Regions from separate parts of the Homo sapiens genome. Here all the other regions are linked to region 4. Evidence: promoter capture Hi-C in 16 types of primary human blood cells and fetal thymus (Javierre and others, 2016). All regions are on one chromosome and are shown on one strand. Each heading gives the region's core, a stretch centred on a gene start or on the middle of the fragment in contact. The rest is flanking DNA. Distances are from core to core; before and after follow the strand shown. Region 1 holds the start of MCIDAS (multiciliate differentiation and DNA synthesis associated cell cycle protein). Region 2 overlaps CDC20B (cell division cycle 20B). Region 3 overlaps DHX29 (DExH-box helicase 29). Region 4 holds the start of SNX18 (sorting nexin 18). Region 5 has its middle 15 kb from the start of CDC20B. Region 6 overlaps NDUFS4 (NADH:ubiquinone oxidoreductase subunit S4). Region 7 overlaps CDC20B (cell division cycle 20B).

Region 1 (3,564 bases), core at 64-2,563, 710 kb before region 4:
CAGCTGAAAAGGCTTTTAAAAAATCACTAATTTACCCATACTAAGCACCAGTCACTTTACATAAATAATCTCACTCATCTTCACAGCAACTCTATTGAGGCCAGTGTAACTTTTTTTCCTAAAGACCTAGGGCTCATGGACCTGGTCCTCAGGCACTCTGACCCTAAAGCCAGAGCTCCTCACCATGAGCCATACCACACCAACTCTAGCTGGCTGACCTCACATCAATTCAGTTTCTGCATCTACTCCTGGGTCAGAGAGTCTCTCACTCTATTCCAGCTCTACCATTGGATTACCTTCCACCGCTGTTAGGGTATCTTGTTTCTTACTAGAGGCTCTTTCACTACGACTACTAGGTATAAGGGGAAAACAAGGTGCCCAACATAGGGGGGTGGGTACACAAAGATTCCAATTTCAGACGACTGTTCAAATTGGATGAATATGAGTGGTACTGAGAAAGGTCCCTCGCCTAAGGATGCCCCTCCCTAGGAGATGCCTCGGACTCAGGAAAATGCCCATTCCTTGGAGAGGTGTTGGCTTGGGAATGGCAACTACGACTGCGAAGAGACCAGCCAAACGTGGCGATGGGCCGCTGAGGCCACTAGGAAAGACAGGAACAGGGTTTTCGGGGATTCGGTACTTTCCACTGTGGCGTTTTCAGAAAGTGGAGGAGGGTTCGTAGTGTCACTTTTTCTTAACGGACGGTCTTTTAAAGGCTGTGCTCACGCGCCACTGCCGAGAAGAGTGCGGGGCTTGGGGAGCGGGGCGGGCTCTTGGCGTCAGGCCAAAAGAGACCACGTGGAAATCCATAAGTCAGGACCCAGGATAAGGTTCAGGTTTGAGGGAAGGGGCTTCTGTAATAAGGGGGCTGTTCCAGGGCATCCCTGCCGGTATTCTACATCCTTACTAAATCCTGCAGGAGCGCAAAGGCCGGAGTCTAGCGCTGGCGGGTGTCACTCCACGTTTATTTCGTGCGCCTTGTGGCTGGAGTGGGAAGAAAAGGAAATAATCGTTAACTTTGCCATTCCCCCTGTCTGTAAGCGGGAAGACGGTACCCAGGGCGAGGGAGACCGGCGTTTGCCCGCCCCTCCTTCTCCCTCTCTTCGCCTGGCGCGTCCGGGAGGCGGCGGCGCCAAAGCTCGCCGAAACGGCGCTGGCGGGCCGGGGCCCCGCGCTGGCGGCTCCCGGGGGAAGCCCGGTTGCCAGGTTGGGTTTAACGCCTCCGCCCGCGCGCAGATTGTCCCGGGCTGAAGGCGCCACCTCTGGCGCTCAGGCGCAAGCCACCCCTCCCGCGCGGCGGTCCTCCCCCTCCCCCGCCATCTCTCAGCACCTCCTCGGCAGCCCCTCGGCTCCTTCTCGGTCACGCGCCTGCCCCAACCTCTGGCTGGCTTCGGAGCCTGCAGGCACTGAAGGGAGTGCAGGGTGTGGATCGCTGCCCCAGCCCGGGCCGCCGCCTCCGAGCAGTCGGCACCCGGAGGCAGGAGGCACAATGCAGGCGTGCGGGGGCGGCGCGGCCGGCCGTCGGGCCTTCGACAGCATCTGCCCCAACAGAATGCTGGCACTGCCGGGCCGGGCGCTGCTCTGCAAGCCGGGGAAGCCGGAGAGGAAGGTGGGGCGGTTGATTCGGGCCGGGCGGGGTCTGCGCGCTCGGTGCCCCGAGGGCTGACCCGCGTTCAACGTTTGTGTGCCCGGCCAGTTCGCTCCTCCGCGGAAGTTCTTCCCCGGATGCACAGGCGGGAGCCCGGTGTCGGTGTACGAGGATCCCCCGGACGCCGAGCCCACAGCGCTGCCAGGTGAGCCCCGTGGCACCCACGCTACCCCTCGGGTTCCCCGCGCCGGGAGGGTGCGGCGCGCACAGCTCGGAGGAGCTTCTCTCCCCCGGGCTCTGACGTCCTAGCTGCGAGCCTGGCGGAGAGGCTCAGGGCCCGCCCGGCGCGTGTCTCCCGGTCTCCCCGCGCAGCCCTCACCACCATAGACCTGCAGGACCTCGCTGACTGCTCTTCGCTACTCGGGTCCGACGCGCCGCCTGGTGGTGACCTGGCCGCCTCGCAGGTACCTCCCCTTCTCGTGGAGCCTCGTGGTTTCACGCAACCCAAACCCTCCTCCGGGGTGGTGGTTTTAATTCCCCAAAAGCTCCTCTCGGGTCGGGAGCGCAGGCACACTCAGCTGGTGAGGGGAAGCATTGTGCAGGCACCTGAGCCTCCCAGATCAGAACTTCTACTTGCATCCTAGTATGTTATGAAGACCACATATCCACTGGAGCTGATTTGACCAACTTGATACAGTCGGGCTCATCTGGAGGCCTCCCCTCCTATTTCCCACCCTATCTACTCTTTGGAGCTGTGACAAGATTGCGCACTGAGAGACCAGGCGGGTGGGTGGGAGCAAAGTTGCGCACTGGGAACCTGTTGCATTCCTATCAGTTCTCCCAACACCCCCTTCCTGGCCATTTTCATTCCGTGGGTATATAAGAAGAGTGGAGGTTGATGGATAACTTCTCTATCAGGACTGGAAAAGAGCAAGAGAATTTGCAGTTGGAAGAAGCAGGAAGGACAAAGGACTCTGGAAGTAATCTTGCAGAAAATGTTCTTCTCTGCAGAGACAGTCCTTCAGCAATTGGGCGCTTTTTCAAAGTCCTGTTCAGCCCTTCGAAAAGCTCTAGTCACTTGCCGTGATGGGGCAAAAAGGCACTTGACTTTTTTCTTTTCCCCAAAACCTGTCTTCTTGCTCCCATCCCACTTCCGCCACTTGCTGGTGCTGACGCTTCCCAGGCAGAGAAGGGAGTCTCCCAGCACTGGTGTCTGGGAGGCCAGAAGCCTGGCTCATGGGTAGGACATGAAGTGCCCAGAGGGACAGGAGGTCTTAAACAGATGCAACCCCCAGGAAAAGTGCCAGTTTCAGCTTGCTGGCAATAGGTCTGGGGTTTGCAGACAGGCCCAGTATGGAACTCTACAAAGAATTGACCACCTCCCAGAACTGGGAGTGCTGGTGGAGCAAAACTCAGCCCTCCTCCAAGGGCCTCCTAGAACCTTGGGCTAGAGCCCAGAGACACTCAGTTTAGGTGGCTGCTGAGAGCAGAGATTGTTAAGGCAAGAGTTGGGAGTGGGCACTGCACTGCAGAGGACATTTAATTGTTCTTTTTAGATCTGGATGATCAAATAAGGAAAGATAATGCCTGAGTATCTTCCAACTGACCCAGAGGCCTAGGTCACTCCCTTACCCCAGCATGTTTATTGTGCAAGTAACAAAACCCAAGCAGCTCTCATTGGATGTTTGTCTAAGTATACAGATTCTACATTTGGCATCATGCTCTTTGTTAGAATTTTTTTCTTGCATTTGTAGTTGGAGAAATGCCAGATTTATCTAATTGGGGAGGTAGAATTCAAAGTTTCATTTTGTTTATTTTCTTTTTCTTTTTTTGAGACAAGGTCTCACTCTGTCACTCAGACTGGAGGGCAGTGACATGATCATGGCTCACTGCAACCTGGACCTCCCAGGCTCAGGCGATCCTCCCACCTCAGCCTCCCAAGTAGCCAGGACTACAGGTGCACACACCACGGCCAG
Region 2 (3,506 bases), core at 597-3,096, 640 kb before region 4:
CTGTAATCCCAGCACTTTGGGAGGCTGAGGCGGGTGGATCACCTAAGATCAGGAGTTTAAGACCAGCCTGCCCAACACGGTGAAACCCCATCTCTACTAAAAATACAAAAAATTAGCCGGGTGTGGTGGTGTGCACCTGTAATCCCAGCTACTCGGGAGGCTGAGACAGTAGAATCATTTGAACCTGGGAGGTGGAGGTTGCAGTGAGCTGAGACCACACCACTGCCCTCCAGCCTGGGGGACAAGAGTGAAACTCTGTGTCAAATAAAATTAAAAGCCAAAAAAAATGAAGCAAAGTTGTAATCCCAAATTGCTGGGATTACAGGTGTGTGCCACCACACCAGGCAAATTTTTGTATTTTGAGTAGAGATAGGGTTTTGGCCTCCCAAAGTGAATAATCACCTTATTTTGAAAAGCAATAACTTTTTTTTTGGCAGGGTCTCGCTGTGTTGCCCGGGATGGGCTTGAACTCCTGGGCACTAAAGTGATCCTCCTGTCTTGGCCTCCCAAAGTGCTGGGATTACATGCATGAGCTACCATGCCCAGCCATGATATCCTTTTGATAAATCTTAATTTATGTAAGAAATGTAGATTTTTTTTCTATTTATACCACTCAAGATTTATGTTCATTTTATTGACTAACATGAGGAAAAATATAATAATTATAACTAAAATTTATGAAGTGCTTACTATGTGCCAGATTAATGTACGCTCCGTGCTTCAAATTGATCCTCTCTTTTAATCTTACAGGGACCCTATGAGGTGGGTATTATTATCATCCCCGTTTTGCAGATGAGATAAATGGAAGCCTAGACACAAGGTCACGTGGCTAATGAGTGGTTGAGCCAGGATTGATATACGGGCCTTTTACTCCAGAGCTCATGCTCTTAACCTTTGGGCTCTATGATCCTTCCTATCTAAGTGGAATGACACCTTAACTCACTGTTACCTTTTTGATTACACAGGCTAAGAAGGGTTTTAGAAGGTTTGTAGTGATAAAGAGAAATAACCTATGAGCTATTGCACCCACGTATCTGGCTGCTGTAACTGAAGAATGATTAGTTCAATGGCATGTGCTTGGGCTTTTCTTTCCTCAGTGGACCTTCAAAATAAGAGGAATAAAGACCTCACTGTGGTTGCCATTTATGGCGTTAGGCATTATATCAACTTTCCCTAGAAATTAAATATAATGTTTTTAGAAGATTCTGACTTCACATTTATGTGAAATATTATAGATCACTATTTGGTTTGTTGGATTAGAAGCTTGATTGCCTGAGTGAGGTAATAGTTTGATCAAAACTCAACTTATTTACAGTGAAAATAGGACTGAAGATGTCATCAGAATAAGTTAGATGAGAGAACATTAGCTAATGTCCTTTATTTATTTATTTAAGATGCAGGCTTGCTCTGTCGCCCAGGCTGGAGTGCAGTAGCGCGATTTCAGCTCACTGCAACCTCTGCCTCTGGGTTCAAGCGATTCTCCTGCCTCAGCCTCCTGAATAGCTGGGATTACAGGTGCCCACCACCACACCTGGCTAATTTTTGTACTATTAATAGAGATGGGGTTTCACCATATTGGCCAGGCTAGTCTCTAACTCCTGACCTTAAGTGATCTGCCTGCCTCGGCCTCCTAAAGTGCTGGGATTACAGGCGTGAGCCACCGCGCCCGGCCTTTTTTTTTTTTTTTTTTTTTTTGACTAATATGGTTTAGAACAGTGTCTGGCACAGAGCAAGCAGTGTATAAGTACTTTATTTTTACTATTAACAGACTTAATTCCAAACAATCTTAAGAAGGCGGTACTATTGATAGCCCATTTTACAAATGAGAAACAGGCACAGAGAAGTTAAGAAGCCACATAGCAAAAACAAAAGAGCAGGGGTTTGAACCCAGGTAGCTTGAGGCCAAAGCCTATGCTGTCTGTATGCCTCATGACCTTTGTGCTAAGTGACCTTGGCAAGTCTTTAAACAGATTTCTGTAGCTAGCTTAATTGGAGAAATAGCCTAACACTACTGCCCTCTGAAAAAACCAAGTTATATGTTTTTGGATTTTAGCAAAAATCTGGTAAGCTGACATATTCATCTTTGAGAATATTGTTTCAGATAAGAAAGACAACATAAAATTAGCCACAAACATATGTTAACTAATAATGCCCAGCACTATTCATGAGAGCTGTGTGGCTATAATGACGGGAAGGGACATTTCTCCAGATGCTAGTTACAAGAGAGGAGAATTAAGATATTTTGTGAAAATAGCCATGGGCACACTTTAAGTAAATTCTTCAGGAAGATGGTAATAAGGAATAAAATATATTGGAATAGAATTCTTTTACCATCTAAGAAGCTAAAACATTGATTTCAGGGGAGCATAACTCCTAGAAGTTACAAAGGATGAGATTCTGGCTCTTTGATGATAGTTTTATGAAGCTTTCCCGATACAACGTTTCAAATGAAATAGGAAAGTATTGTCCTGGTATAATTGTTTAAAAATGAAAAGCAATTTAAAACAGCATATGCAAGGCAGATATTTACCAACAAGAAATCTAAATGCAGGTTCTCCTTCAGATCCTAGAATCTTAATCTTGTGGAAGATGGGGAAAGTTACTCCGTAGTTTTTTCTTGCAAAAGATTCTACTTCCTTGCTTGGGCGGGGCTCCGATTCTCCAAACTGATTGCAGGGAAAAGCCAACACGCTGAAGTGGGATGGTCCAAACTCTTTGTGCAGTTCCTTCAGCCCTAAGTAATTTCTGTCTGTGAGTTGGCAGTCACTGGCCACGTTTACAACTAGTGAAACCTCCCGGAAAAAGAAAAAAATCCAACCGGAAAGTGAAGCAAAAGATTTTAAAAAATTCTGCAAGTAGTTAAAATCCTAAACAATTTGGGGGGGACTATAACCTCTGATTGATGTTTTTTTCATATTTTTGGACATACACAGTTCTATTGAAAACTGTAACCTAGATGCCTGGGTTAAGGCCCTGAAATAGTACTGCCATTAAAAAAGCATTAGATACTCATGAAAGTTTATTTTTAAATTAAAGATAAAACTATGATCCTTGATAAGTTCTTTTTAAAGTTATTAGATTATAGAACCAATACTTTTATTAATAAATGTCATCATGTTCACATTACTAACTATAAGTATTTTCCAAACAACTTTACATGTCAATTCAGCACAAAATTAAAGCATTTTAAAGAAAACGAGATAATCGGAATTTATTATTTAGAAGCAAACTATCAGAACTGTAATAACTAAAGTGATGTACTAATACCATTACTCTGAAGACTAAATTCCAACTTATGACCATGTAACAGCAAAAAATTGATTTTATTAAGAGGAATAAACAGAGACAAGGAAAAATGATAACAATAAAAATCAGATGATGCAACTTACTTTGCCTTTATACTTTTCCAGAGAAACAGTTCTTCCTTTTGCATCCTTCACTTCAAAGGCATAAAAGCTGTTGATTTTAGGTTTGAGGAATTTTAGTTGTAGAAGAAATAGCGTTAC
Region 3 (3,625 bases), core at 586-3,085, 780 kb before region 4:
GATATGTAGGCATTTGCATTTTATGAGAAACTGGTTAACATGGAGTAATGCTAATTGGTAAAATGTTGAAAATTTAGAGAGGATATTGCTAGCTACTAGATTGAGTTATTTGGTGAAGTATTGGGGAAAAAAGCTGAAATCAAATATTTAATATTTAGCATTCTTTTTTTTTTTTTTTTTTTTTTTGAGACGGAGTCTCGCTCTGTCGCCCAGGCCGGACTGCGGACTGCAGTGGCGCAATCTCGGCTCACTGCAAGCTCCGCTTCCCGGGTTCACGCCATTCTCCTGCCTCAGCCTCCCGAGTAGCTGGGACTACAGGCGCCCGCCACCGCGCCCGGCTAATTTTTTGTATTTTTAGTAGAGACGGGGTTTCACCTTGTTAGCCAGGATGGTCTCGATCTCCTGACCTCATGATCCACCCGCCTCGGCCTCCCAAAGTGCTGGGATTACAGGCGTGAGCCACCGCGCCCGGCCTAATATTTAGCATTCTTTAGAGGAAAATTAAAATAATGTAATAGATATTAATCATTAAATTGCCTTGTCTATTTGTATTTACAGGTCCAAAAATTTATAGTTTTAATTCTACAAATGATTCTAGTGGTCCTGCAAATCTGGATAAATCTATTTTGAAAGTAAGTAACAAAGGTTTTGAGTCATTTCAAGAAATGTTTCCCCCTTTTTTCCCCCAAAAAAGATGTATCCTTAAATGTAAGAAAATGATGGGGTGTTTTAAATTTTTGTAAATAGTACTCTAAGAGCTAATCTCTACTAAAAATAAGTAAATCATACACATATGTTGAGAGACAGTAAGAAATGAAGGAAGGCCTGGTTAAGATCTAAACTTCTTAAGCATGGCATATACATTTTTTCAGGTCTGTCTTAGAATACCGTTTCACCCTCCTCTCTGCTACTCTGATCTCTACTTAATATTTTAGTTCATGGGACATCTCATGAATATCTCATTTGTTCTTCTAAATCCGTGATTTTACAACTTCTAGCTTTTACCCATGTACTCTCTGCGTAGAGTGCCCTTATTTCCCCTTTTTATTTGTCACCTCTGTGACCTCTATGAAGTCCTTTATCAACCGCCAAGTTGATTTTCTTGGTGGTTCTACTATTACTTGATATATCTTTTTTGAGAATTGCCATGCTGGGTTATAATTTGTCTCTTTATATATATTTTCTGGGCTAGACTGTGAATTTCTGAATTATATTTTTGTGCTTAGTTTATAGTAGGCATTTAGTTAAAAAGTAACAAAGGGAAGATATTTTTGTAAGTAGATGCTTGTGTACTCTTAGGTCAAAAATAACAAAAGAACAGAAAATAAAATGGCTAGTAGGAAAAAGTAGGAATCAAAGTCTAGAAGCCAAAAGAATTTGTGTAGCTTATTACGACATATTTAGTTTTCAGTTTTACTTGTTATACCCGTTTTTAGTATAGTGTTCATTCTTTTAGGTTGTGTGCTTGCAGTGGTTTACATTAAATCCCTCCAAGAATTCTGATTCAGTATGTTTGGGATAGAACTTAGGAATCTTTGTGACAGCAACCCAAGGGTGGTCCAAGGACAATGTCTCGTGACATTGCCCTCAAGAGGCTTTTTCTTGCCATGTGTTATCTTGTTGCTTTTTTCATATCACATTTTTTCTTAAAGAAATGATAGGAATGTGGTCAAATGGGTGGTAGTCCAAAAAATGATAATTACTGTATCTGATTTTAGCTGAAATTTTGGGCTTGGTTGGCAGGAATATAGAAAACTGTATGATTGGCTTTTAATTTTTTAATAATTTAGCTTCTAAATGATATGACCTTTTTGGCCTCAACAGGTGGTAATTAATAACAAACTAGAGCAAAGAATTATTGGAGTGATCAATGAGCATAAAAAGCAAAATAATGACAAAGGAATGATTTCTGGAAGACTTACTGCCAAAAAATTGCAGGTATTTTGCAAACTTTTTAAAGTTCCTTAGTTTTAGTGAAGCATTTTTAGACAGCTCCTCATGTGAGATAAAAATGGCTTTACAACTTCCATTGAGATTTTATGTAGATCATTTCCATCTCTAAGAATAGAGAAAGAATTGTGCACACCTTAAATCAAGAAGGTACAAGTGCACACATTAAAATGGTGATATGAAAATTAAGGTATATCCCCAGAATTATATTATTGAGCACCTACTATGTTAGATTCTGTGCTGGGCACTTTGTTTACATTTTCTCTGACACAACAGTCCTATGAAGTAAATGTATTTGGCCCCATTTTTTCAAGTGAAAGAATTGAGGCTTGCAAAGATGCCATAAATTATACCCTAAGGTTACTAGTAAACAGGGTCTGGATTTGAACCCAGCTCTGCCTAACCATAATGATTATGCTTTAGAAAGTATGTTAAAATGCTTTATCTTTATCTATAAAGATGTTCACTGAAGCACAGCTTGTAATAAAAAAAAAATATGTCCTAAGTGTTCAGCCATAGAAAAATATAAAATTAAATCAGGATATGTCCACCCAGTGGAATATTATGTAACTATTCAAAGTGATGGTGCAGAGTTTCTACTAACTTGGGAAGGTGCTTATGTTATAATGTTAAGTGAAATCTCTTTTTACAAAATTATGGAAAAATGACTGAAAAAAATGTACTACATTTAGTATCTTTGGATAGTGAGAATATGGATAATTTCTCCTGGTTCTCTTTTTTAAAGATCTCTGGTTTCCAAATTCTTAATTCAGTAAACACATTTCATTTTTAACTGGGAAAAAAAAGATAGTTTTGAAATTATAATTTGTGTCAAAGTTTCTGGTTTAAAATGAATGGGATAATTAGTAACACAGGAAGGGAACTTTGACAAATGTGACTTTTTTTATATTTGCTTGTCATAGGATTTATACATGGCTTTACAAGCATTTTCATTTAAGACAAAGGACATTGAAGATGCCATGACCAATACACTCTTATATGGAGGTGACCTTCATTCTGCCTTGGATTGGCTCTGTTTAAACCTTTCAGATGGTAAACAATATCATTAAATTCTTTCAGTTTCTAAACCTTTTGAAGTAGTTTTGGTATTTGTATCAACCTTTTGGCTCATACTCATATTTTTTCACTGTCATAATTATTTACTTTTAAAGTGTTCTTACCTTCTGTTCTTTTCAGGATATTTTCCTTAGAGATTGTGGCCTATGCAAGAAAATATTATGTTTTGTGTTCAGTTGTTGATTGTTATTTTGCTATGTCCTTAATACAAGGTTTGCCTCTCAGTAAGCTATGTCTCCTGGCTTTTCATTTAGAAATTAGGACTGTCCTTGAATATATAGTATTTTATTAAGCAGAGGATCATGATTGTAATCTTTGGCAAGAATCTGGAGTGCAAATGGCTTGTGGTGACTAAGGATACTACCACATGCTGTGACAGAAAGCCAAAGAGTGGGAAGGATTAAGATCTTATGACAATTTAGGAGCCTAACATTGAGGGTGAAATAATGGCCAAATACAAGAGGGCTAGCTATCATCTGATGAGTACGTTCACTTCTAGGTTGACGGATAAAACCAGGTTCATCTTAAGATTTCTATTCTTAGGAGATGAGGGAATAGAAGAAAATTAGGTGCTCTAAGTCTAGGCAAGGTTTACAAA
Region 4 (3,463 bases), core at 856-3,355:
GCTCATTACTCAACTATTCAAACTCTAAAATGATAGCACTGTCATCAAAGGTACTCTTTGAACCTTCGAGAAAGAGTACTCATTCCCTAATGCAAGATACTCGAGGAGGAAGCTGCCTGTCGAGCAATCCAACTTACACTCTAGGGAAAAGACCCAGGCGTCCACGTCTCTGCTCGCTTCCTCACCTGTAGAATATGATTCTGAAACCCACAGTGGTACTGCTGTCAAAGTCGCCCCTTTCAGCCTGCACAATACACTCCATATCACCTGCTCTAAGGGCCAGGCTTTACCTTTCTGAACGTGGATGATGTCCGGGAAGTTAGCCAGATGCCCCTGATACAGCGCTAATAGGTCCATGACGGGATCCAGGTCCTGCCTGGGCTGCTCCGCGAAGAGCTCGCCAATGGCGTCATAGGCATCTCCGGTGAAGGCGATAGCCTGGTTCAGGCCCACCGAGAAGGCCTGCTGGTCCAGCTCAAAGGCCTGGCTGAGGCCGCGGAAGGACTGGCCCACCTTCTGATACTCCTTTTTGAAGCCGGTCACCTGCTTGCGCGCGAACTCGTTGGCCGTGTGGTTGAGCTGCAGCGCGCTGTCGTCCATCTTCTTGGTGAAGCACTTGAAGCCGTCGATCTTGCTCTCCACCTCCTGCAGGTCAAGGGCAGCGGCGGGGGGCGTGCTAAGGGTCAGGAAGAAGTTGGCGCCCACCATCTCGTCCTTCTCGGCCTTCCTCTTGCCCTGCTTCCAGGCTTTCTCGTCGGTGCTGCTGGGGCACGTCAGGAAGTGCTGGAAGACGTCGCACTGCGCCAGCACTGGGTGGCTGGCCATGTGGTTCATCCACCAGATCAGGCCCTTCCTGCGCTTAGAGATGAAGTCCTCCTCGAAGCGGCCGGTGGCCTGCTTCTCGGGCAGGTGGGGCACGGAGATGACCGGGAACTTCTCCGCCAGGCGCGCGTACAGCCAGTCGAAGTGCTTGTAGCGCCGATGCACCGGCACCTGCGTGTGCGTGGGCACCAGCTTGTAGGAGATGTAGCTCTTCATGCCCTTGAACTTGGTCTGCTTGGTGGGGTCGTCGATGGTGCACTGGAACGGGTAGGGGTTCTCCTGCCACTCGGGGCCATAGGGCCCCAGCACCACGCACAGCTTGTCCCCGTCCTTCACGAAGCCTGACGCCTCCCCCAGCACGAAGGCCTCCCCGCCGGACTTGACGAAGGTGGAGAAGCGATTGAGGTTGCGGCTCACGGTGGCCGAGCTCTTGGGCCCCGACGGGTGGTGCTGCGGGGGGACCGAGCCGCCGCGGGAACCCAGGGACAGGTCGGAGCGCGTGGACAGGCGGTAGCGGCCGGCTGCGCCCACACCCGCCGAAGACGAGCCGTCGAGGTCCGGGTATGCTCCGCTGCCCAGAGCGCCCGGCTCGTCCGCCACCGTGGAGCTGTCGTCCCACTCGTCGTCCCAGTCATCATCGCTGCCTTGGCTGGCCTGGTAGCCGCCGTAGAGCTGCTGAGGCGACGGCTGCAGGGCGCCCCCGCCGTACGGGAAGCCCGCGCCGGGCGGCTGGAAGGTGCTCGGAGGCGGCGCCTGCTGTGGCTGCAGCAGCGCCTGGAAGGCGTCAGGCGGCGGCTTGAAGGAGGCGGGGGGCGCGACAGGCAGGGGCTCGAAGCCCCCGGGGGGCACATTGGCGTAGCGGGCCGGGGCGCCCGGGCCGCCGTCTCCCGCCGGGCCAGGCTCGGGGGCGCGGATCACCTGCACATAGGAGGCCGGGAAGAGGCCGCGGTCGCCGCGGCTGTTGACCCCCTCGAGCCAGCCCTCGATGTCCTGCTCGCTGCACAGGCTCAGCACCTCGTGCTCTCGCAGCGAGATCTCTCCTGGGTTCTCCGACCTGAAGTCGTACAGCGCCCGGGCGCGCAGCGCCATGGTCCCGGCGCCCCGACTGGCGGTCCCGACTCCCGGCGTCCCGAGCCGAGGCCCACCTGAGGGGCCCGCGGTACTGCTCGAGCCCTGGCGCGCGGACTGGAGCCCCGAAGGCGGCAAACCCACGCTGCCCGGACCAGCCGGTCGCGCCCTCCGCGCGGCTCCGCTCGCAGCGCCTCCACTTCGCAGCGCCGACTGCCGCGCTGGGCCGCCGCAGCCGCCGCCGGTCGGGGGCGGGGCCCGCGGCCTCCCACGTCTCCAGCTGCGCTAATCCACGGCCGAGAGCCCCTTGCCAGGCGAGAGCAAGCGATGGCCGAGCCGCCGAGCCCACCGCCCGCGTCGGCTTTGCGGCGGCCACTGCCCTCTAGTGGCCGGTGCCGCGAAGCCGGGCGCCGTAGTGAGCGCGGCTGAAGGAGGTTTCTACTCCGAAGTGAATTATCTGAGATTTCTTTAGGCTTTTAAGTTAAACATTCTCTAGAAAGTAAGTTAGCATTTGCATGCCTGATAAACGTTCCCACTCTGAGCGCTCAGTGAATGCTCCTAGAATGGCAACCCAGTCATGTAATAAAGCATTTTGCAATGCGAATTAGTGATTGCACTAAGAAAACAGGATGCCTCTGCGGAGGAGCTGTTCACCTACAGAGCAGGCTCCCTTCCCTCTTCTGCTCAAGGAGAGGAGATTGGCAAGAACAAAGTAAGGGCCAGGGAAGGTGCTGTGATTGACAAAATTAGAAGCAAAGGATCATGTAGAGAGGGAGGAGCTGGAGAGTTTCCAGTACAATAAATGCTCACACATTTATTACATGCATGTGTCGCCTATCCTCCCATAGATATATGTAGTGCGGTGAATGAGAGCTCAAACTTCGGAGCCAGGCTTCTGAATTTCAATCTGTGTTCTGACACTACCTAGCTGTATGACCTGGAACAAGGCACTTATATCGTACCTACCTCCGGGGGTTGTTGTGGGGATTCCATCATAAAGTAATCCCTATTTTACAGATGAGGAAAGTGAAACAATATCTGGCAGGGTAAGCAGATTTGAAGGGTTTGTTGCTGCTTTTGCTGCTGTTACTGTTATTTGGGGGAAGCAAAATCCCTGGCCTCTTTCACAAAGGGAATAGGGGTACTAAACTAACAATTGCAGGGTACATGCACCAGGAAGCGTCCCAATGTTCACATTGCCACTCCTAGTAAGAGGTCAGTGACCATCCATCCATCTGTTGTCTCTATGTCTCACTATATTTATATTATTTTTAAGATAAATAGAACAAAAATCACTTCCTGAAATAATCAGCTCCAATCTATCGTTGCCTTGTTTCCTATCTTCCTTTCCTTCAGTGTATAATTTGCCCAAAGCTTTTTCTTCTCTTAATCCCCTCTTATTAAGTCTAGCCTAATTATTCCTTTGAAGACACTTCTAATTGAGGTTCTGCATTCATGTGTCATTAATTTCAGCCTGTCCTCTGACCCTTTTCAAGGAAACCTGGGAAACGGGCCAGAAGAGTGTACAATTATTCTAAGGGCTGTGGTATTGTAAGCATCTTGCACAAAAACA
Region 5 (3,326 bases), core at 731-3,230, 670 kb before region 4:
TTATGCTAATAAACTGAGATTCTAAAATTTGCTTTAATTTTGATAATTATATTACAAGTGAAACATCTTATTTTTTTTCTTGCTACAAAATGAATAACTGCAAGCAAAAGTGTACATAAAACACCCATATTTCTCCCACTTAATGGGAACATCCAGGCTCCTTTGCGTATATATACAGACAAATATATACTTAAAATAAGAATTATAACCTGATATGTGCCTCCTTTTTCTTCTAATAGTATTTATGATTCTTTTATGATTTTTATTTCTGAAATATTTTAATGACTTGATTTCATTATATAGACGTGGAGTAATTTATTCAACCAATACCTCGTGGTTGGATATTTAACAAATATGCACTGGATCATTAACTTTCCCTACAATTATTTCAAAAGTGAAGAAAATGCGAGGAAACTAAAGGAAGTAAAGCATTTCTTCCCAAATTCAGCCTTTGGGCATTTATAATGGTGGTACAGTTTTGAGTTCTATAATCTAAGATAAATATTGAAACCTGAGGATTCAGAGGTGTACAGTAAACAAAGCATTGGGAAATAGGAATTGAAATTATTTAACCTTAAGAAGAGAAAGCTTAAGAATGGCTACATTTATGTTTATTTACATAGAAAGAATATCCTATAGGACCTTGTGTTTTCATGATATCACTCTCACAGTGTGTCAGTGTTAGGGTCATTATTGTGTATGTCTCCTCTTCCCATCTAGCCTGAGAGCTCCCAGAGGAAGTTATCTAATTGATCTATTTCCCCAGTCGTGTGTGCTGTTTAAAGAAAAAATGTTTTCTGAACTAAAGTTGATTATAATCACGACATTTCAAAAGAGGAGAGAGCAGACCGGGATAGTTTAGTCCTGCCTATAGTCACTATGCTCATTTTTGTAAACTTCTAAAGGGATTACCAGCCATGTGATTCTATCCATTTTACTAGTATGCTACTGTTTGTTTCTTCTTCTTATAAAGAAGAATTTAAGGGCTTTTCCTCACTGTCTTACTCTAGTAAATCAGGTCCTTGTGTATCCTATTACTAAAATGTAAACATAATTGTGTTGAAATTATGTCCCACTGGCTAAGTTGAACTGTATGAAATGTTAGCTAAATGCTTCTGTATTTACACAGGTATGTTTGCTTACTGGGTAAGCACAGTTGGAAGTGTTTCATTTAAATATGATGAGCTGAGAATTTGGCGGTGCAGCTGATGGGTAAGTTTTCCATAATAGTGATGCGATTCAAGTTTCTATTTTGTTTTGTTTTGCTTTTTACTCAACATTTAGGCGATAAAGTTGTAGAATCTCTATAGGAAAGTTGAGAATGATAGCACACTTTTGGCACACACCAAATTCATGTATTCAAATTATGTGGGCTCAACCTTTGAGGGATGTTTAAGATTTTAGCCTATTGAGCAGTAAGGTCACTGCAAACTTTTAGGTTGTTTGAGTCAAAACTTCCCACAGTTGATGACAAAATATTTTAGTTGGCTTGTGCCTTCCTAAACTAGATCTGATTCTGGTGAGGGTTGGTGGTATGTGTTTGTTAACAAAAAAACAGAAAATGTCCCAATTAGATCTTCATTTCTTCCTTTCTTTTCCTTTTCTTCTTTTTCTTCTTCTTCTTCTTCTTTTTTTTTGTAGCAGGTAACAAAATAAAAGCTCTTAGTCAAGTCTCTAGTTAATAAAGACAAACATCATATCTTGTCTCCCTATATGCTGTCCCAGAAGAAAAGCAGAGAAACAAGTTTATAAACTCTAAATTTTCCTAGCAAAATCATGTCAGTTGGAGTTGTGGGAATTAACTACTCTTTTAAAATAGTTCCTGCCTTCATTTTGCCACTGAAGTACAAAAATGCTATAAAGTATTTAAAGTGCTTAGTATTGTGGTTGAAAACAGCATTCAATAAATTTTAGCTGTTAGGTTTTTTTTTTTTAAAAAAGAAAACAACATCTTAATATAAAAACTCACTCAAAAAGTCAATGGGCCCAGTTAGTATAGACAATACATTTGATCTCAAAAAGGAAGGAAGAAGAATCAAAATGAAAGGAAAATAGCAATTTAAATTATCAAGGACATCAGAATAACTGAGATGTATATAATTTGTTTTTTTCTTTTTTTTGAGACAGGGTCGTGATCCTCTCACCTCAGCCTCCCAAGTAGCTGGGACTACAGGCATGTACCACTGCTCCTGGCTAATTTTTTTATTTAAATTTTTCGTAGACATGATGTCCCACTCTGTTGCCCAGGCTAGTCTTGATTCCTGGCTTCAAAACATCCTCCTGCCTTGGCCTCTCAAAGTGCTGGGATTACAGATGTGAGCCACCGTGCTTGGCCTATTTTGCATTTTTTTTTTTTTCAATCTGATAAAATAGGCCCACAATCCTGGATAATGTGAAGAGAGCTAATTACTTTCCATGTTCACAGTGCCACCTTCAGGAAAGAAAGTGTTCGTTTTAATTTAGTGCAAATGCATCTTTATTGGAGAAGGTTGGGCCAAGTACCTGAAGATCAGGTGTGTTAATGACGATGTTTAAGTTTGACTGTCATGAGCATGTTTACTCTGATTTCTGCCTGGTTGTGTTCAAAGCAGAAGACAAACTGCTAGCCTTTAAATTTTGAAATGGGGCATTAAAAATTTGATTAGAAATGAAATACATATAATTTCCTATTTATTCTGTTTTGCAACACCATACTTAGATCATCATATGTAAATTATGGAATTTTTATATATCTCCAAGAGGTTTAACAATCTCCTTTGATAATTGGTTCTTTTAACCAATCTTATAAGAAAATTATCCACTATATTGAATTAAAAATGGGACTAAACAATAAATTCTAGTGCTTGAAATAGTACCCAATGGATGAACAACTGGTATAGGAAGTCAGCATGGGTCAGATTAAACAACCTTGGGAAGAGGAGGGGAAGAGCTCCTAGAACTCTCTAGGGCTACATTGTCTTAGGTAGCCACTAGTTACATGTGGCTATTGAGCACTTGAGATGCAGATTAGTACAAATCGGGATTTGCTATAAATGTAGAACACACAAAGGATTTTAAAGACCTAATGCCAAAAAATCATAAAATATCTCAATATTTTTTATATTGATTATATGTGGAAATTATAATATTTCATATATGTTACATTAAATTAAATATATTATTTAAATTAATTTTACCTATTTATTTTAAATTTTCTTACTGTGGCTACTAGAAAGTTTGAAAGATTACTTACGTGGCTTGCATTATACTTCTATTGGGCAGTTATGCTCTAGGGCATACAAATTATAGTGGAAGCGGCCCCCATGATAATCATAGATTACTAAGCA
Region 6 (3,836 bases), core at 1,212-3,711, 950 kb after region 4:
AATTAGAATATGTGTTGTAGATAGTTTATCTTCATATTTATAAAGGTTAGTGCCTACCTGGCTATCACTGATGAGGGTATTAAAAGAAACACTGCGTAATGCTCCCTGCTTTTCCTCACAATCGCTCATCTCTAAATATGTATTTATTCATCTGTAAGATAAGCATTTACCTGCTACATGCAAGCCATTACACTAGATGCCATGAAGTACACACAAATAAACAAAAATGTGGTTGTGTCCTCAAAAAGCTTGCGACCTCACTGCTGATATATCGGTCCATGTGCTAAAACCTGCTCACTTGCAAATATGAGTGTATATAAAATAGAGTCAGCATAGGTTGTTATGCTGAGGTAACCAATCCAAACACCTTTGTGGCTTACAGCAAAGGTTTATTTTTCACTCAATTTATATTTTATAAAATCTTGCAATAAGAATCAGTTTCTGCTTTGCACTATGTAGTCTACAATCCAAGATGTGGGCTAAAACAGCAGACCCCACCTGGAGTACACCTACCTCACATCAGAGGGAAAAGGAATATGACAAAACACAGGAGAGCTCTCAAAGCTCCTGTTTGACATGGTATATCATTTCCACTAACATTTCACTGGATAAAGCAAGTCATTTGGCCAGTGGTTTTTGGATATGTAATCCTGTTGCAGACAGTGGTAGTGAATACTTTAAACAATAACACAATCTATCACAATACTTACAACCAAGATTAAAGAAATGAAAAACATTCAGGCCATTCAAACCAATAATAAAATTACCATTTATCTAGGGAAGGCTTACTATATGCCGACATTACATATTAAAATATTTAATTTTCCGGCTGGATACGGTGGCTCATGCCTGTAATCCTAACACTTTGGGAGGCCAAGGCACACGGATCACTTGGGGTCAGGTGTTCAAGACCAGTGTGAAACCCCGTCTGTACTGAAAATACAAAAATTAGCTGGGCGTGGTGGCAAGCACACCTACAGTCCCAGCTGCCTGTGAAGACTAAGGCAGGAGGATCACCTGAGCCCAGAGGGTGGAGGTTGCATGAGCCAAGATTGCGCCACTGCACTCCAGCCTGAGCAACAGAATGAGACTCTGTCTCAAAATATAATAATTATTTTCCTAACAAAAATTCAACGAAGATGTCTGCTACTGATGAAAACTAAGTATGGGCATTTGGAAAGAGGAAAAGAAACAAAACAAATAAACCTATCAGAAAACATATTAGAAATCTTTCAAGCTCTCAAACTTTGGCTTGGATGTGTTACAAAGATAGCAAAAATAGCTGCCCCTAGGAGAGGAATTTATTTAGTTTATCTGAAGTAGAAGTGAACCTATTGGTCTTAAGTGTCCTAAATTTGAGCTTAGCCTATTTCCCAGCAAGGTGTTAACAAACAGAATTCTTGTCAACCTTAAGGACTGCTTACTATTTGGAGGGTTCAAATTCAATTCCCCATCGAATTGAAGACTCAATTTCATGCTAGCTTATATAATGCTGAAGAACCAAACACAGCAACAGAATAAAGCCACAGATCAGGGCATAAAAGAGACCTCACAAACAGGTCCCAAACACTCAGTCCCCACCAGTCATTAATTAAAACCCTCTGGGTGATTTAACACCCTAAGGACTTGTTTGAGGAAAACACAAGACCTAGTAAATACTAAGGTGAGATAAGTATACATGAACACACTTAAATAAGTGAATAAAAACATCACTGCATCAAATATCTTAAGTATAGCTATTTTGAAATAGAGTGCCATTTCATCTGGCTGATAAATGCATTTAGAATAGTTAAATTTACCCTGGAAAATCTCTTAGGAAAGTCAGGGAAAGTAAGGATAAATGTAGACAACTTAGGGATGGGCGCGGTGGCTCCCGCCTGTCATCCCAGCACTTTGGGAGGCCGGGGCGGGTGGATCACCTGTGGGTAGGAGTTTGAGACCAGCCTGGCTAACACGGTGAAACTCCATCTCTACTAAAAATAAAAAAATTAGCTGGGCGAGGTGGTGGGCACCTGTAATCCCAGCTACTCTGGAGGCTGGGGCGGGAGAATCGCTTGAACCCGGGAGGCAGAGGTTGCAGTGAACTGAGATTGTGCCACTGCACTCTAGAATGGGTGACAAGAGCGAAACTACATCTCCAAAAAAAAAAAAAATGTAGACAATTTAACCCCTTTTTTTGCCTCCTCACATTCGGTACAGGGAAATGAGAAGCACATGGAAACTGAGACCAACACTACAGCACAAGCTCAGTAAGTAACTAGATCAGCTCAATCACCCACATTACTAGATTTTTTCTCTCTTGTGTGTATGTGTTGTTGCATTCTTTGTTTTGCTTTTCACTGATGATATACTATAATTGAATTAATATGTTAATGTAGCAGCTAACAGCATCCTTCCTTTTCTTTTTTTTTTTTTTTTTTGTTTTTTTGAGACACAGTCTGGCTCTGTTGCCCAGGCTGGAGTGCAGTGGCGCGATCTTGACTCACTGCAAGCTCTGCCTCCCGGGTTCACGCCATCCTCCTGCCTCAGCCTCCTGAGTAGCTGGGACTACAGGCGCACGCTGCCACGCCTGGCTAATTTTTTGTATTTTTAGTAGAGACGGGGTTTCACCGTGTTGGCCAGGATGGTCTCGATCTCCTGACCTTGTGATCTGCCCGCCTCGGCCTCCCAAAGTGCTGGGATTACAGGTGTGAGCCACCGCGCCCGGCCCTTCCTTTCCTTCAGTTCCCTACTCCACTCCTTACCTTACTGATTCCACTTCCCATATTCTATTCAAATGATCTGAAATGTTACATGATTTGCAAATGTTTTTCTAAGCATTACAATAAAATGAATTTTAGATGTAGATTTTCCCATTAATTGGTTCTTTCTACTCACCTTTTTCAGATCCTCATTACTATCAAATCATAATGGAAAAAGAATGCTTAAGGATGAAGAACAAACAATATGTAAGGGAGAGGGTCTATAAATTTCCCTCAAATTAGGATGAACATGACAAGCTCTTAGGGTAAAAATGTGGCACAGAAAACAAATAAATGTGTTAATTTGTATTTAAAAAACGTCTTCCCTGGCATTAAGATTTTTTTTCAAGATTAAATGATTTATTTTCAAATCTCTTACATTTGCAGGCAAAAACTCTTAAGTTTGGATATGTAGTAACAATTATCATCAGAGTTTCAAAAATCTAATCTCAACTTCAATTACTATAATTGCTGACAAAATGGCTTTGACTTAAAATTACAGCCATGTTTTGATTAGCCATAAACCAGTGGTCCCTTCAAACTTGTTTTCAGTTCTGGGGCTACCATGAGTACATTATTATCTGGGAATGACAATTAATCCCTATAATCTGTACGGGAGGAAGGGCTAATCTTGGTCACCGCTATATTAACTCTAAGTTAACCAGTGAAGTATTTTACCTTAGAAAAATACTTAACCCAGCCTGACCAACATGGTGAAACCCCGCCTCTACTAAAAATACAAAAATTAGCCAGGTGTGGTGGTGCGCGCCTGTAATCCCAGCTAGTCAGGAGGCTGCGGCAGGAGAACTGCTTGAACCCGGGAGGCGGAGGTTGCAGTGAACCAAGATCACGCCATTGCACTACAGCCTGGGCGTCAGAGTGAGAATGTATCTCAAAAAAAAAAAGAGAAAGAAAAAGGAAAAATACTTTCCATATATGGAACACTTAATTACAAACATCATTTGCCTTTCCCCAATCTTAGCACCCTTACTTTTGAGTGACTCTATTCTATGTATTTAGTAATCGTTTAACTAATGCTTTCAAGCCTTTTCATAAGCCACGGACCCTACGGGACACTCTCTTCTTTCCCACCCA
Region 7 (3,673 bases), core at 596-3,095, 620 kb before region 4:
TTTTTCTGTGCTTGGCTATTTTGCTAGAAGAATAATAAAATATTGTTCATATAAATTTTAGTTATCTGAACTCATATGCAATTGGAAGTGAATGTTTTAGAGCAGGTATTTTGATGTGTGCTTTATTGTTGGATATGGGTTTGGGGGATAGGGAATGGCCGGGGAGTCCTACTGAGATAATTAGGGTGCACTGGTGGCCTCAAACATGGGCCAGATTATTGACACTCCTGTGTTTTCCACCCTCTACTGCTGATTGGAGTTTTTGCTGCCCTACCCCTTAAGACTTCCTTTTCCTTCCTCTTATCCTTTCTGGTAACTGGTGGCAGCAAGGTTAGTGGCTCCATCTGTGGGCTCATGATGGTGTTGGCAAGATACTCCTTAGCAATTGTTATACCAGCTGGAACATCATCCCAGCATCACTGAAGAACCTGGGCAGGGGATAATGGAAGCTGTTCTATGGTGTTAAGGAGAGCATTTTTTGTCATGATTAGTTAGAAGTCAAATAGCATCGAGAGTGGTGAAGACTCAAAGCGAGGTCTTTCCCCTGTAGAGTAAACGTGTGTCTTCATGTGGTCCTCACTGATCATCTGGAGGGTGTTTCCACAACGAGGGCCTGCATAGCCGTGGAGACTTTCAGAATTCATCTTCCAGGAGCTCCATATTAAGTTGCTGATTAAAGTAGTAAGTCGATCTCATCTAGGAAAGAGCACCCCTGCACCCACAGAACAGAAGCGCCTGCTAAACCTTGCTGTGATCAGCTTTGTGGTAACTGTGGGATTCTAAAGAAGTGAGTCTGTGAAGAGTTCATTGAACTACTGATGAGCAGGCCATTTTAGGAATATTATTTTATACTAACGGTTCTCAACTCAGGGTGATTTTACTCACCAAGGGGCATTTGGCAATATCTAAAGACATTTCATTGTTACAACTCAGGGGGAGAGCATCTTGTGGGTGAAGGCCTGGGTTACTGCTAAACATCCTACAATGCACAGAACAGCTCCCACAACAATGAATTGTTGCCCATAGTGCCAAGATTGGGAAACCCTGCTTTCTAGTTAGTTGTTCTACCTTGAATAACTAAAAACCACGATTCATTGACAGCAATGCCAATTATGTGACATAACATCAAGGAAGAAAAACAAAATACCAAAATGTTGTCTGTCAGAGAGACTTCTGTCTGAACCGTGGGGACCCAGAGTGTAAGGAACATGGCTGTGCTTTGGTCAAGGATAGGCCGAGGTAGGATGTTTACATTCTTCGTGACTCAGTGAGTATAGAGCACAGGCGTATAACTCCACTTGTCATCATAGCCATGTAGACACAACATAGAGAAGCTCACCACTATAGTTATAACACCGGGAAGGCCATCACTTGGCTCTAAGCCACTATTGTCCGTAAAAGGTATAATTGCCCTGTTGACACTGTGCAGAAGCTGGCACCTGGAGAAAGAGAAAGCCAGAGCTGTCTTTGCAGATGGATGAGGGGAGCCAGGACACAGCTTGGCTTGCTCGTGCCCAGAGAAAGAAAGTGTTAAGCTGCTGACCCTGAAGGCAAGGGAGAGCCAGTCTTGCAGCTGTGTGTGTGGGTCATCAATTAAGCAGCCAAGATAAAGGTGAACAGTGTAGAGAGCTAGTGTAAGAAAGCTGTTGATGAGAGCTGCTGCTGAATAAAATCATTCACCTGCCTACGGCCCCCCAAAGTGTTCTTTCTGCTCATCCACCCACTCCCTCCAGACCTCAACATGACCTTTGGCGTAGTTCTGAACCTGACACAGTGTTTGTCATATTTGGGAGAGCAAATATTTTATTGTGAAGAAGCAAAACAGAATCTTCTCTGCTTTAATCATTTATCACTATGTTTTTAGGAAATTCCAACAGTTATTTTTCTTTCCACTTATTACTAATTTTCCCAGGTGTTTTTGATTGAAGTTGGATGTAAGAGTGTCAGAAGGGCTCTTTATATATTGGCCCAAAGGGATGGGACCCAGATTTTTGTGCACATGGAATTTTAGTAAAGTTACTTAAGAGCTCTGTGAAGGTGTTAACAAAAAAGGACCTTAAGATGGCCATTCAGCTGTGGCAGGCTTTGCTGATATCACTGGCCTATGGTGTATAGGCTAAACAGATTTTTAGGCTAGAAGAGTAAAAAAAGATTTTATTCTAGCCAAAAAATACCTGCTCTATGGAGTTGTTGAACTCCATAGTTGAGAAATAATATATGTAAAATGCTCAGCACTGTTCATAATATATTGTTTAGTTAATAAATAATAGCGATTATTGTGGTGTTGGCTTTGACAATGTGGAATCTTTGAACTCCTTAGTGAATTACCAGTTGTAATTCTATATTATACATTACATTTTAGTTGTACATGTATGTTTTTAAAGAAATATTCTCCTTATGTGTGTTTATTTTCAGAAATGCCTAAAACAACTCTTTGTAACCCAGAACGTGGTTCAGCAGGCTAATGGAAAAATGCAGCTCTGTGAGCAATCCGAATGTGTTTGGAAAGGTACAGGATCAAGACATTGTCCTTCTTTCCTGCGCTCCTCTCTCTCTGCCTCCTTCATTTCTTCCTAATCTTAAAATATATTATTTTTAATATTTACTAGACTAAATCAACCTAATTGTAAAATATGAATAATTCTCATAATCCTCTGTTCTAACTACCCCTACCTCCAAGTCCCATTCTCTATAGGTGACCACCTTTAGTTCTTCCAGCTGTCCTCCTGGTATTTACATCTATTTTCTAAATAATATTGGTAAACTACTATTTCTTGTGATTTTAGACTTAATCATGACTTTTTTGTTTTTGGTGTTGCTCAGGCTGGAGTGCAGTGGTGCGATCTTGGCTCACTGCAACCTTTGCCTCCCGGGTTCAAAGGACTCTCATGCCTCAGCTCCCTGAGTAGCTGGGATTATAGGCATGCACCACCATGCCTGGTTAATTTTTTTGTATTTTTAGTAGAGTTGGGTTTCACCATGTTGGCCATGGCTGGTCTCGAACTCCTGGCCGCAAGTGACCCTCCTGCCTCAGCCTCCCAAAGTGCTGGGATTACAGGCATAGTAGATAAGAATTTAGTTCTCTTCCTGCCTCATTCAGTTTCATCAGTTTCTCGACATGCTTATATCACACTTTAAAAAAGTAAAATTAGTAGTTAATGTTTACATCATATTACTACACAACTATTATTCACTATCAAGCCAAATAATATAATTATGCTTCTTTTCTAGTATAATTGTTTAGCTGAGTATTAAAAGTTGCCTTAGTTTTCATTTACTAGATAACTATGACACCATTAATATTTCCTCTAAATGCTCCAATGTTTTATTCCGTAGCTGTCAATAACATTTTCCATGCACTCACTCACTCCAGTTTCTTCTTTTCCTTGATGTCCTCCCTTTCAGAGCCTGCTGAACAGGCTGCTTTCTTGGCCAGTTGCACAGTTGTCTTCTGGGACTTTTCATCAATATTATATCCACTATTTTTGGGCAGCTATGTTGTGCTCTTTCTGGGTTTGCTGGTCTGAAGATGTCCTTATTTTTCTTTTATGCTTGATTCATAGTTTGGCTGGCTATAAATTCTAGTCTCACTCAGAATTTTGACAATATTGCTTTATGGTTTTCTAGTATCCACTGTTGCTGTTGAGAAGTCATGTGTTAATTTGACTTCAAC

Evidence for each region. Contacts are between HindIII fragments. The CHiCAGO score rates a contact against its expected background, and 5 or more counts as called.
Region 1: the fragment with the promoter of MCIDAS here is called in contact with the fragment with the promoter of SNX18 in region 4 in 6 of 17 cell types (naive CD8 T cells, activated CD4 T cells, naive CD4 T cells and 3 more); the score reaches 8.0 in naive CD8 T cells.
Region 2: a contact is called between a fragment that was not itself captured here and the fragment with the promoter of SNX18 in region 4, in 15 of 17 cell types (naive CD8 T cells, activated CD4 T cells, total CD8 T cells and 12 more). The highest score is 23.5, in naive CD8 T cells.
Region 3: a fragment that was not itself captured here is called in contact with the fragment with the promoter of SNX18 in region 4 in 1 of 17 cell types (neutrophils); the score reaches 5.1 in neutrophils.
Region 5: a fragment that was not itself captured here is called in contact with the fragment with the promoter of SNX18 in region 4 in 1 of 17 cell types (activated CD4 T cells); the score reaches 5.1 in activated CD4 T cells.
Region 6: a fragment that was not itself captured here is called in contact with the fragment with the promoter of SNX18 in region 4 in 1 of 17 cell types (monocytes); the score reaches 5.0 in monocytes.
Region 7: a fragment that was not itself captured here is called in contact with the fragment with the promoter of SNX18 in region 4 in 11 of 17 cell types (fetal thymus, naive B cells, neutrophils and 8 more); the score reaches 13.6 in fetal thymus.

The regions. Positions count from the first base shown.
Region 1 is chr5:55,225,064-55,228,627 of GRCh38, reverse strand. MCIDAS (multiciliate differentiation and DNA synthesis associated cell cycle protein) reads left to right here and starts at 1,313. Exons shown (of 7, transcript NM_001190787.3): 1 at 1,313-1,609; 2 at 1,697-1,793; 3 at 1,961-2,052. The coding sequence starts at 1,490. LOC124900978 (a long non-coding RNA gene) reads right to left here and starts at 2,010. Exons shown (of 2, transcript XR_007058773.1): 1 at 1,331-2,010; 2 at 1-984. RefSeq lists silencers at 1,054-1,143, 1,294-1,443, 1,494-1,563. The HindIII fragment of the contact is 6,344 bases long and covers 1-3,564 here.
Region 2 is chr5:55,160,280-55,163,785 of GRCh38, reverse strand. All of the region lies in intron 2 of CDC20B (cell division cycle 20B), which reads left to right. It overlaps GPX8 (glutathione peroxidase 8 (putative)), which reads right to left. Exons shown (of 3, transcript NM_001008397.4): 1 at 3,390-3,506; 2 at 2,531-2,792. Among named protein-coding and RNA genes, the nearest start is that of GPX8, 1.9 kb to the right of the region's middle. The HindIII fragment of the contact is 1,162 bases long and covers 1,266-2,427 here.
Region 3 is chr5:55,295,598-55,299,222 of GRCh38, reverse strand. It overlaps DHX29 (DExH-box helicase 29), which reads left to right. Exons shown (of 27, transcript NM_019030.4): 2 at 559-632; 3 at 1,825-1,938; 4 at 2,874-3,003. Among named protein-coding and RNA genes, the nearest start is that of DHX29, 10 kb to the left of the region's middle. The HindIII fragment of the contact is 9,704 bases long and covers 1-3,625 here.
Region 4 is chr5:54,516,401-54,519,863 of GRCh38, reverse strand. SNX18 (sorting nexin 18) reads right to left here and starts at 2,105. Exons shown (of 2, transcript NM_001102575.2): 1 at 291-2,105. The coding sequence starts at 1,911. RefSeq lists an enhancer at 253-1,197 and silencers at 1,670-2,229, 2,110-2,351. The HindIII fragment of the contact is 5,643 bases long and covers 1-3,266 here.
Region 5 is chr5:55,186,599-55,189,924 of GRCh38, reverse strand. No RefSeq gene overlaps it. Among named protein-coding and RNA genes, the nearest start is that of CDC20B, 15 kb to the right of the region's middle. RefSeq lists a silencer at 958-1,158. The HindIII fragment of the contact is 2,780 bases long and covers 591-3,326 here.
Region 6 is chr5:53,561,821-53,565,656 of GRCh38, reverse strand. All of the region lies in intron 1 of NDUFS4 (NADH:ubiquinone oxidoreductase subunit S4), which reads right to left. Among named protein-coding and RNA genes, the nearest start is that of NDUFS4, 3.1 kb to the right of the region's middle. The HindIII fragment of the contact is 4,422 bases long and covers 251-3,836 here.
Region 7 is chr5:55,139,150-55,142,822 of GRCh38, reverse strand. It overlaps CDC20B (cell division cycle 20B), which reads left to right. Exons shown (of 12, transcript NM_001170402.1): 5 at 2,416-2,509. Among named protein-coding and RNA genes, the nearest start is that of GPX8, 19 kb to the left of the region's middle. The HindIII fragment of the contact is 3,807 bases long and covers 1-3,673 here.